Linked DNA regions of Homo sapiens: region 2 is linked to region 1. The links are contacts of gene promoters, found by promoter capture Hi-C in blood cells and fetal thymus (Javierre and others, 2016). All regions are on one chromosome and are shown on one strand. Each heading gives the region's core, a stretch centred on a gene start or on the middle of the fragment in contact. The rest is flanking DNA. Distances are from core to core; before and after follow the strand shown.

Region 1 (6,269 bases), core at 2,147-4,646:
TATCTTTGCATCTTTTTGCCAGCATATGTTTGGGATGGACTCACAGGACTGTGATTTGTGACTGTGGGGTTTTAATTTTGCTACATATTGCCAAATTCCTCTCCTTTAGGGCTGTACCACTTTGCATTCCCACCAACAATTATGAGAGTACCTGTTCCTCCTGTGGCTACTTTTAAGGGTAAACTTCAAACTCCTATAGATGGGAGATGGTGACTTACAAACCGATGGCAGAAAAAAAAGGGTTCCAACAATCTACTTCATTCACTTACTCATTTAATAAACATTTGTTGAGTGTTTAACATATGCCCTTACTCTGGTTAAGAGTGATAACGGGGCTCAGAATCTGGAGGGGTTACAAAGGGAACATAGGCACTTACATCACCTTATGGTAAGTGCTGATGGGGAAGCATTGGCTGCTCCGGGAGCATGTAGTGGGGCAGGAGTGTCTAACTGATTACAGGGGTAGGTGTTCAGGAAAGGTCCCTAAAAGAAGTGACTTCTAATCTGAGACTTAAAAGTTAGGGTTTAGAATTCATCTTTGTGTGTAATTCTAGAGAAAAATGGCATGATCCATTTTTCTGTTTTAGAAATGTGGTAAGCAGGTGGACTAGAGTGGGGAATGAGGCAGAGAGATTGGTTAGGATGACACAGCAGTACTCTAAGCAAGGAATGAGGATGGCCTGAAACACAGAAGTAGCCAAGAAAAAAAGAAACAAAGGATTTGTGAGACATTTAGAAAACAGACTCAATGGGAGTTGTGGTTGCCTTGAAGGCAGGGGCTGTTGTAATGTAAAGCCAAGGCTTTTCCTTGATATATTCATTGGCATTCTGCATCACTTTCCTACATAAACAGACCAGACACATAACATACCATCTGAGATTTCTAGTTTTGCTTTCTTTAAAATGGAAGAACATCTTGAATACACCTGTAAAACAATCTTCACTACAGAATCTTTTTAGATTTCTATAAATTTTTCTCCTAGGCTTTTACCATTAACTTGTTCATAATTAACTCAATAACAATTTGTCTTAGCTACTCATCTTCAACAAGTGTTTCTGATTTTCAACTTAGTTTTCATAGCAATAGCAACCCTCTTTTTTGGTACTCATATTTCATTTTTCGTATTATTTCATTAAATTACGTAGTTGCAACTGTAAGCATAAGTGCCATACACACATTTAAAAAATTGTTTTCATTCTTTTTTTTTTTCCTTTTTTTACAGAGACAAGATATCACTATGTGGCCCAGGCTGGTCTCGAACCCCTGGGCTTAAGCAATCCTGCCTCGGCCTCCCAAAGTGTTAGGATTACAGGCATGAGCCACTGCGCCCAGCCCACAGACACATGATGTTTAGAAAAAAACACAATGGACCCTCACTAAGCACACAACTCAAATGGAGGAGGAGAAGCGCAGGCATGCAAGAGACAAGCCTATGAGTCATAACCACTCATTATGCTGTGGGCAAATGTCAGTGTGTTTCTCCTCACAGGCTCTCTCCCCAGAGACCCCTTCCCTGATCATCTGTTTAAGATTAACCCTTTCGACCGGGTGTGGTGGCTCATGCCTGTAATCCCAGCACTTTAGGGGGCCAAAGCGGGAAGGATCACTTGAGGTCAGGAGTTTGAGACCAGCCTGGCCAACATGGTGAAACCCCATCTCTACTAAAAACACAAAAATTAGCTGGGTGTGGTGGCAGGCGCCTATAATCCCAGCTACTCAGGAGGCTGAGGCAGGAGAATCGCTTGAACCCAGGAGGCAGAGGTTGCAGTGAGCCCGAGATCGGGCCACTGCACTTTAGCCTGGGTGACAGAGCTAGTGGGACTCCTCCTCTGTCTCAAAACAAACAAACAAACAAAGATTAACCCTTTCATCACTCTCTATTCCCAGATTAATTTTGCTTCACAGGATTTACCACCACCTGATTTTTTTCTGTTTCACTTGTTTATCGTCTGTCTCTTCACTAAAATGTAAACTTCCCAAGTAGAGGGATTTAGTTTTGTTTATTCCGTGTACCTAGAGCAGTTCCTGGCACATAGCAGACACCCAATAAGTATTTGTTAAATGAATACTGTGGAATGAGTTTTTTACACATGAAATTCTCAGCTAATCAAACAAAATAGCTATGTGGAGACTGCTCAAGAAGCAATGCTGCCAGGAGCGGTGGCTCACGCCTGTAATCCCAGCACTTTGGAAGGCTGATGCAGGCAGATCATGAGGTCAAGAGTTCGAGACCAGCCTGGCCAACATGGTGAAACCTCATCTCTACTAAGAATACAAAAATAGCCAGGTGTGGTGGTGCGTGCCTGTAATCCCAGCTACTCAGGAGGCTGAGGCGGGAGAATCACTTGAACCCAGGAGGCGGAAGTTGCAGTGAGCCAAGATCACACCACTACACTCCAGCCTGGCGACAGAGCTAGACTCCGTCTCAAAAAAAAAAAAAAAAAAGGAAAAGTACTTCCTTCAATTAGTCATTCTAAAGACTTCATGAATTAAACTCCATAAAAGACAACAGTGTCTAGCATATATAAAATGCTAAATAAATGTACGTTTATTATGATGAATATGTTGAATATTTACAGGTGGTTAACTATAAACACCTCTAGTTGAAAATATATATAATATATATTACATATATTATATATAATATATATGTATATTATATATGTAATATATACATACACATTATATATAATATATACGTATATATATTATATAATACGTAATATATAATACTTATATATATAATTCGCCTCCCAGGTTCAAGCAATTCTCCTGCCTCAGCCTCCCAAGTAACTGGGATTACAGGCATGTGCCACCACGCTCGGCTATATATTTTTTTAATTATTATTTTTTAGTAGAGACGGGGGTTTCTCCATGATTGTCAGGCTAGTTTCGAACTCCCGACCTCAGGTGATCCGCCCGCCTCGGCCTCCCAAAGAGCTGTTTTAAAGCACAGGTTCCCATGGCATCGCTTCTTCCCCCAACCCTCACACACTGTCCCTAACCAAAGAGACTGCACACCCCAGAATGCAACACGCGCCTCCGCGAAGAAGACCTACTCATAGCAAGTACTTCACAGCCTACAATTCCCAAGATGCAACGCGACCTCCTTCCCACAGCAACGAAAGACTGCGACTCCCCGGACTATCAGGCCGGGAGAGTCCACTTCCAGCTCACCTCGGAGCTCCGGGAGCCTTTCAGCACCTGCTTGGTGAGCGCGATTACGTCAGTACCACAGGTGGTCACCTTCTCCGTGAGAAGCCCCTTCACGGACTGACCGAACCGCGCTTGAGACTCTGGCGTTCCAGTCGCCATCATTTCAGTTAGCGAACGGTTGCGCACTGACGATGGTGAGTCGCCGGGGCCAAAAGACAAGCAAAGCGGAAGGAAAAGAGGCGTCTCTTCCTCCATGGGAAAAGGAAGGGACGCATGCGCCTGATGGAGGTTGACCTTTGCTCACTAAACTCATGAACTATTCATTGATATCCTGAGGAAAACAGGGTCCAGGCAAACATCTCTGGAGGGGATGGAGGACAGTTTCATTGACTCTATGGTTCAGAATCGGAAAGCCTGCGGCAGGGCATGGCGGCGCACGCCTGAAATCCCAGCCCTTTGGGAGACCCAGGCAGGAGGATCACCTGAGCCTGAGAGTTCCAGACCACCCTGGGCAACATAGCGAAACTCCATCTCTTTAAAAATAAAATAAAATTAAAATTAATACAAATAATTAAAAAGAATCAGAAGGCCCGGATTACAGTCCCAATGCTACCATTTAGCAGTGTGTGGCTGCAAATTACTCAGCTTCTGTCTTATATTCCTCATCTGTTAAACAGAAGTAATAATGTTTCCAAGGGGTTATGAGAATATCATTCCATTCATATATATATACACATATATATATATACACATATATATACACATATATACACATATATACATATATATACATATATATACACATATATATATACATATATATTTTTTTTTCCCCAGAGTCTTGTTCTGTTGCCTAGGCCTTTTTTTGATTAATTGAGACAAGGGGCCAGGCGTGGTGGCTCACGCCTGTAATCCCAACACTTTGAAAGGCCAAGGTGGATCACTTGAGGTCAGGAGTTCAAGGCCAACCTATCCATATGGTGACACACCTGTAGTCCCAGCACTTTGGGAGGCCGAGGCAGAAGGGTCACTCAAGGCCAGGAGTTCAGTATCAGCAGCCTGGGCAACATAGCGATAACTTGTCTCATTTTATTTAATTTTATTTTATTTTATTTTTTTTTTGAGATGGAGTCTCGCTTTGTTGCCCAGGCTGGAGTGCAGTGGCTCGATCTCAGCTCACTGCAACATCCGCCTCCTGAGTTCAAGTGATTCTCCTGCCTCAGCCTCCCAAGTAGCTGGGATTACAGGTGCTTGCCACCAGGCCCGGCTAATTTTTGTATTTTTAGTAGAGATAGGGTTTCACCATGTTGGCCAGGCTGGTCTCAAATTCCTGACATCTAATGATCCACCAGCCTTGGCCTTCCAAAATGGTGGGATTACAGGCGTGAGCCACTGCACCTGGCCTCATTCCATTCAATTTTAACAAACATTTCATGAACTAAATACCAGACACTGTACTAGGCTGGGGATAGAGAAAGAAATGAAATACAGTTCTTGTCTCTGTGGAACTCCCAGGCTGATGAGGCAGATAGGCCTGTAAACAAATGAAGAAGGAAAAACAATCTAATAGAAAAATTGGCAAAAGGCACAAGTAGGCAATTCAAAAAAAAAAATCAACTGGCTGATAAATGTGAAAAATGCTCAACATCACTAGTAATTTTTATTGATAACCTCTTTATTGTATTAATACCAAACTGATGGTAACCACCTTGTAAGTGAATTAATATGTAAAATATTTCAAGTAGGCCAGGTGCCGTGGCTCACGCCTGTAATCCCAGCACTTTGGGAAGTTGAGGCGGGAGGATCACCTGAGGTCAGGAGTTCGAGACCAGCCTGCCCAACATGGTGGAACCCCGTCTCTACTAAAAATACAAAAATTAGCCGGGCGTGGTGGTGGGCACCTGTAGTCCCAGCTACTCTGGAGGCTGAGGCAGGAGAATTTCTTGAACCCGGGAGGCAGAGGTTGCAGTGAGCCGAGATCATGCCACTGTATTCCAGCCTAGGCGACAGAGTGAGACTCTGTCTCAAAAAAAAAATAAAATATTTCAAGTAGCTCCATTTCTTTTTTAGTTAATAAAAGATGTGAGAATGTTATTGTATTGAAAATTTTGTTCAAAATTACCTGTATTCAATATCAACATTACTTCCTCTTCCAAGTGTCTAGATTCATATGTCTCCGTTGAATCTCATTTACTGTTTACTTTTTGTCCTTAATAAACTTTATTGAGTTTATGTGCATGAATTTATGTTATAATTTATGTACAATAACAACATTATTTTTTGAGATGGAGTCTTGCTTTGTCACCCAGGCTGGAGTGCAGTGGCACGATCTTGGCTCACTGCAACCTTTGCCTCCCTGGTTCAAGCGATTCTCCTGCCTCAGCCTCCCGAGTAGCTGGGATTACAGGTGCCCACTATCACGCCTGGCTAATTTTTGTATTTTTAGTAGAGATGGGTTTCACCATGTTGGCTAGGCTGGTCTTGAACTCCTGACCTCAGGTGATCCACCTGCCTTGGCCTCCCAAAGTGCTGGGATTACAGGCGTTGAGCCACCACGCCCGGCCTGCACAATAACCACATTCTTTAAAGTGTACGATTTGATGAGTGTGACAGACGTATACATCTGTGAACCACCACCACTATTAAGATACAGAACAGGGTGGGAGCAGTAGCTCATGCCTGTATTCCCAGCACTTTGGGAGGCCGAGGCAGAAAGATTGCTTGAGGCCAGGAGTTCAATATCAGCAGCCTGGGCAACATAGCGATAACTTGTCTCATTTTATTTATTTATTTTTATTATTTATTTACTTTATTTTGAGACGGAGTCTTGCCCTGTCACCCAGGCTGGAGTACACGGGTGTGATCTTGGCTCACTGCAACCTCCGCCTCCCGGGTTCAAGCGATTCTCCTGCCTCAGCCTCCCAAGTAGCTGGGACTACAGGTACGCACCATCGCGCCCGGCTAATTTTTGTATTTTTAGTAGAGGTGGGGTTTCACCATGTTGGCCAGGCTGGTCTTGAACTCCTGACCTCATGATCGGCCCACCTTGGCCTCCCAAAGTGCTGGGATTACAGACATGAGCCACCACGCCCGGCCCCTTGTCTCAATTAAA
Region 2 (6,244 bases), core at 786-3,285, 420 kb before region 1:
AGGTTTCCCATCCGGAAACCACACAGCTCTGTCGCATCCCTTGACCCTATCCCCTCTTCTTTAACCGACTGGGAGGTTAGGGGTTTCTGGGAGGTGTCCCCTACACCCACCCTCATCCTGAGGTGAGGCGCACAGAAAGCCTTCCCGAGGGCGAGGTCGTGTTTTTCCAGTTACAGTGAGGACCTGCAGAGCGAGCCCTTGTCCCCTTCCTCAGGGTCCCCAAGGAGAAAGGTGGGAGATGCTACGTCAGAAAGCATCTCTCCAGCTGCCCCTCTGCAGCTCCTGGGGAGGCTCCGGGCGGAAAGATGTTCAGCAAGTGCCTCTCCCAGAAGAGAGGGGAGATCAGTAAAGAAAGTGACCCCGAGCTGCGGAGAGTGGGGAGAAGCGGCGGTACAGAGGGGAAAAGAGGCCAGACTTGGAGAAGCAGGAGGCGCTGGGAATTGCTGGGGCTCATCGTTAGGGCACTAAAGCATGGCACAGGCCAGGACCACAAGCTGCTGGAAAGGGGGCTGCAGACTTTTGTGTTTAGAGCATTATATTTTAAAATATTTCGAAAGGAGCATTTTTAAACCAGGAGATTTCACCTGTAAAGAAATTGGATTTCTGGCTTCTTCTGAAAATGGGAAGAGCTGGGATGCCCACAGTGGCAGAGGTGAGTTGCCCTTGCCATTTGTATAAGAAGTGTGCTCTCCTGTTCACTACAGTCCCTGCCATTCTCCACTGAATTACGCCCCCCTTCTTAATTCATTTACTTTACCTCTCTGACCCTGTGGGCATTTGAGATTTCAGTTTGTGTAAATCCAGCAGGGCAGGTTCTCAACTGGCTTCAGAGAGCCACTCCCTGTGCAGATCTCTTTTTGGAGAAAAGAGATCCCTGCAAAAAGATTAAACTCCAGGAGTGGGGGAGAGTGCTGGTGACTGAGCCGGCCTCTTCTGCCACATGGTAGGGTTGGTGGGGCAGGGGGTGAGAATCAAAGAATGGAATCTGAAAAGATGAAGGCTGGGAGGGGTCAGTGTGGCGTCTGTAATATGTACCCACTTGCAAGCTTCTAATATCATTCAGGATGTGGATATGGCTTTGGAGAGGGAGTAGGAAGACCTTTTTAGTTATATCCCAGAATTCCAGACTGAGGGCCTTTTATTGATATTGGAATCTTCAAGGACGTAGTTCTAGGATAAGTTTTACTTCATGGGGAAAGGGGAATATGCTTGGGACAGGCCACTAAAGGAAGGGTGAAAAGGGATCTTATGGGACTTTGGAGCATATCTCTTGGCTTTGTGCTTGATGTCATGGAAGATGGTCAGGCCCTGCCACAGCCTGCCCCTCTGGTTCCTCATCACAGACCAAAGCCTTGAGTTGGAGGGACTCAATTCTGAGGTCTTTGGGCTTAGAAAGACCTGGTAAGGTGAACAATAAAAGATTGCTAACACTGCTGAGTAATGATTGTCTGCCAGTACTTGTGCTGGCACTTTTGCATAGGTTTACCTCTGAACCATGCTTCAAGGTGGCCCTCACCTCCATCTTATAGATAAGGCACCGAGGTGCGGGTGCAGCACAAGGTCACCAGCAAGCAAAGACAAGCATACATTCTCTCTTCACTACATAATTCTGCTTAGTGCAGTGAGACTCTTTTTTTTTTTTTTTTTTTTCTGAGACGGAGTTGGCCGGGTGCAGTGGCTCACACCTGTAATCCCAGCACTTTGGGAGGCCGAGATGGGCGGATCACTTGAGGTGAGGAGTTTGAGACCAGCCTGACCAACATGGTGAAACCCTGTCTCTATTAAAAATATAAAAATGAGCCGGGTGTGGTGGCACGGGCCTGTAATCCCAGCTCCTCAGGAGGCTGAGGCAGGAGAATTGCTTGAACTCGGGAGGTGGAGGTTTTAGTGAGCCGAAATCATGCGACTGCACTCCAGCCTGGGTGACAGAGCGAGACTCCATCAAAAAAAAAAAAAAAAAGAGAGACGGAGTTGCGCTCTTCTTGCCCAGGCTGGAGGGCAGTAGCGTGATCTTGGCTCACCACAGGTCAGCGGGTAGGTGTCTGCCACAACATCTGGCTATTTTTTGTATTTTTTTTTTTTTTTGAGATGGAGTCTCGCTCTGTCGCCCAAGCCGGAATGCAGTGGCACAATCTCGGCTCACTGCAACCTTTGCCTCCTGGGTTCAAGCAGTTCTCTGCCTCAGGCTCCCGAGTAGCTGGGATTACAGGTGCCCACCACCACACCTGGCTAATTTTTGTATTTTTAGTAGAGATGGGGTTTCACCATGTTGGCCAGGCTGGTCTTGAACTCCTGACCTCGTGATCCACCTGCTTTGGCCTCCCGAAGTGCTGGGATTACAGGCATGAGCCACCACGCCTGGCCAATTTTTTGTATTTTTACTAGAGACGGGGTTTCATCATGTTTTCCAGGCTCGTCTTGAACTTGACCTCAGGTGATCCACCTGCCTTGGCCTCCCAAAGTGCAGGGATTACAGACGTCAGCCACTGCGCCCAGCCTGCAGTGAGACTCTTGAAGTCTTGTTAATTTCCATGCAGCACGGCCGGCTGCCGTGGCTCCTGCCTGTAATCTCAGCACTTTGGGAGGCCGAGGCGAGTGGATCACCTGAGGTCAGGAGTTCGAGACCAGCCTGACCAACATGGAGAAACCTGTCTCTACTAAAAATACAAAATTAGCTGAGGGTGGTGGCACATGCCTGTAATCCCAGCTACTCTGGAGGCCAAGGCAGAAGAATCACTTGAACCCGGGAGGCGGAGGTTGTGGTGAGCCAAGATCGCACCATTGCACTCCAGCCTGGGCAACAAGGGTGAAACTGTCTCAAAAAAACAAAATATTTCTGTGCAGCCAGAATAGGACTAAGTGGGCTTTGGAAGAGTTTTGGCTGATAACAAATCAGCATGCTGGTTTGTAATTGAAAGAACATTGGACTCAGAGTCAGAGGCAATGGGTTTGAATTGTGGCTTCTGCCACTTACTAAGCATGTAGGGATAACAACACCTACCTCCCAAGAGTCATGAAAGCTTGAGCTGATGCATGTGAAGGTGCTTTTAAGCTGTAGGTATAAAGAGTTATGGTCATCATCATCCTCTTTCAAATGAAAGGAACGGTTTCACATCCATCAGCAACAGGATATGAATTGGGTTTAGGGAGGGGATTGCAGGAAATAGTCCATCACACCCTTGCACAGGTCTCCAGGCTACTACTACTGAAAGTCAGCAAAATGTCCTGGTTGGAGTTCCGCTTTCTTTCCCTTCCCATCCTCCAGTGGAATCAGTACCCCAAAGGCAAAACACACATAGAACAGAAGAAAGTGAGGCAAAAGGCCTAAATATTTCAGCAGAGTGACAGTTGCCCTGGCAAAGATGCATTTTGCATTTTCTCAACAGCTTATCTGAGATTCCAAACTGGTATTCCCCTGTGGGACTTATGCCTCCTCTTTCTTGGCATCCCACCCCACAGGCCCAGATGTTTGGCTTTAATAATTTTAGCACAAAGCTATCCTGCGAAGGAGTGATCTTGGCTGAGCCTCAATCCATAACTCCTTCCAGCTGGCCAGGCCTCCTGAGGGAGTTCCCTGTGTGTGCCAGGGCTGTGTCTTCATCTTCCTCTGATGGCACACTCAGACACCACAGACACGTTGTCAGTCATCCCCAGTTCTCCCTAAGGCCACATTCTCCAGTCTCTCTGTGGCATTTGGCAGTGCTGACCACTCTCCTTGGTTTTAATGACTCAGTTCTTAGCCTTCCGCTCTTCCTTTGTAAACTCTTTTTTTAGGCCAGGCACCGTGACTCATGCCTGTAATCCCAGCACTTTGGGAGGCTGAGGTGGGAGGAGCACTTGAGCCCAGGAGTTTGAGACTAGCCTGGGCAACATGGCAAAACCCCATCTCTACCAAAAATACAAAAATTAGCTGAGTGTGGTGGTACATGCCTGTGGTCCCAGCTTCTCAGGAGGCTGAGGCAGGAGAATTGCTTGAACCCGGGAGGCAGAGGTTGCAGTGAGCAGAGATCGCGCCATTGCACTCCAGCCTGGGCAATAAGAGCGAAACTCTGTCTCAAAATAATAATAATAATAATAATAATAATAATAATAATAATAATATAATAATAATAAACAACTCTCTTTTTACGATATTAGATCTCCCAGAAGCAGGGAGGCTTATAAAGTTTTCTCCCTGAGAAATCTAGTTTTGCATCTAGCCAGGTGACCTCAAACACATTACTATTATTTGCTGAGCCGTAATTTCTTGAAATTGTCTGTGAAATTTCAATAAAACAATCCACCAGAGTGCTCTGCAAACCTGGCTGATCATTAGAATTACCTGAGAACTTAAATTTAGATTCCTGGGCTTTACCCATAACCCACTTAATCTAAGGGATTGAGATCCCTAGACCTACCTCTCGTGAAATGACTGTGCAGTTTAAATGAGATTATGTATACAAAGCAGACATCACAGTGCCTGCTGTGTGCATGTTCAGTAAATGGTAGCTGTTAGAAGTATCAACTTCTTTAATTAATTCATTCACCAAATAGTTACTGAATGTTTATGTCCAAGGCCCCTGGAGTAGGTGCCTTCTCCATAGGAATAAGGCAGATGTGGGCTCTGCCTCCATGGGAGTGGCATTCTAGTAGGAGAGACAGAGATTAAGCAGCTAATTACACCATTAATTGTTAATTACACTTATGACAAGTGCTCTGAAGGCAAGTACAAGTTGCTGTGGGGCATACAACTAAGGCCCTGACCTATGCCAATGAGTCCCAAACCCCTATTTCCAATTTCCACCTCCAAACACATATCTAACTGCCTGTTGGATATCTCCTCGTGAATGCTTGCTGGTCTTCAAATACCATAGATCTGAAAGTGAACTTATTATCTCCCTCTTCTCCTCCCCCCTCCCCTTGCTTCTTGATCTTCACTTTGTCCCACTCGTTCCTCTGCTTACACAGTTCCTTCTTCCTGGAATTTCACCCCCAGCCCTACTTCAACTGTTGAGATCCTTAAGGCTCAAATGCCGCCCCTCCTTGAAGCCTTCCTTGGTATCTCCAGTGGAAGGTGATCCATCCTTCCCTTGAACTCTCCTCCTCAAACCCATAGCCTTTGCAGCACTCACATGGCTCATAATGAACATAGTCTTCTACTGTAATTATTTGTATGCTTGTCTGAGTTGAAATGGGAGCTGTGTGCAGTAGTGCACACCTATAGGCCCAGCTACTTGGGCTGAGGCAGGAAGATCTCTTGAGCCCAGGAGTTCGAGGCTGTAGTGTACTATGATTGCACCTGTGAATAACCGCTGCACTCCAGCCTGGGCAACATAGTGAGACTCCATTTCTAAATATTAAAATAAATAAATAAATAGATGAATAGAACTGGAAGCTCCTTGAGCACAACTCATCTTCTACATCTATATATATCTCTCAGCACCTATCACAGTATTAAACACATGTGAGGTGAAAAAAGGGGTTGAAAATGCTTTCTCATATAACCACTTGGGAAAAGTCTTTGGCATGACACCAAGAGTGAGATTCATAAAAAAAAAAATGCTTTTAACTTCATCAAAATTAAAATCTTTTGCTCTGCAAAAGATCCTGTTAAGAAGATGAAGGCAGTCAGGCACCATGGCTCACGCCTGTAATCCCAGCACTTTGGGAGGCTGAGGCAGGCAGATCACGAGGTCAGGAGATCGAGACCATCCTGGCTAACACGGTGAAACTCCGTCTGTACTAAAAATACAAAAATTAGCCAGACGTGGTGGCGGGCGCCTGTAATCCCAGCCACTCGGGAGGCTGAGGCAGGAGAATGGCATGAACCCAGGAGGCAGAGCTTGCAGTGAGCCAAGATCGCGCCACTGCACTCCAGCCTGGGCAACAGAGCGAGACTGTGTCTCAAAAAAAAAAAAAAAAAAAGGAAGATGAAGGCTGGGCATGGTGGCTCAGCACTTTGGGAGGCCAAGGCAGGCAGATCACGAGGTCAGAAGTTCGAGACAAGCCTAGCCATCTCTACTAAAAAATTAGCTGAGCATGGTGGCACGTGCCTGTAGTCCCAGCTATTCGGGAGGCTGAGGCAGGAGAATTGCTTGAACCCGGCAGGCAGAGGTTGCAGTGAGCCGAGACTGTGCCATTGCACTCCAGCCTGGGCAACAGGCGACAGAGTGAGACTCCATCTCAAAAAAAAAAAAGAAGAAGATGAAAAGACAAGCCAAAAATATTTACAAATGACAACAAATGTATCCAGAATGTGTATCCA

The links. The method cuts DNA at HindIII sites, captures the fragments that hold promoters and counts their contacts. A CHiCAGO score of 5 or more calls a contact.
Region 2: a contact is called between a fragment that was not itself captured here and the fragment with the promoter of BORCS7-ASMT in region 1, in 1 of 17 cell types (erythroblasts). The highest score is 6.4, in erythroblasts.

What each region holds. Positions count from the first base shown.
Region 1 is chr10:102,851,337-102,857,605 of GRCh38, reverse strand. It overlaps BORCS7-ASMT (BORCS7-ASMT readthrough (NMD candidate)), which reads right to left and starts at 3,396. Exons shown (of 15, transcript NR_037644.1): 1 at 3,179-3,396. BORCS7 (BLOC-1 related complex subunit 7) reads right to left here and starts at 3,347. Exons shown (of 5, transcript NM_001136200.2): 1 at 3,179-3,347. The coding sequence starts at 3,319. RefSeq lists enhancers at 1,032-2,004, 3,012-3,201, 2,801-3,313, 3,272-3,331, 3,314-3,827. The HindIII fragment of the contact is 18,616 bases long and covers 1-6,269 here.
Region 2 is chr10:103,270,624-103,276,867 of GRCh38, reverse strand. No RefSeq gene overlaps it. Among named protein-coding and RNA genes, the nearest start is that of INA, 3.4 kb to the left of the region's middle. The HindIII fragment of the contact is 1,974 bases long and covers 1,049-3,022 here.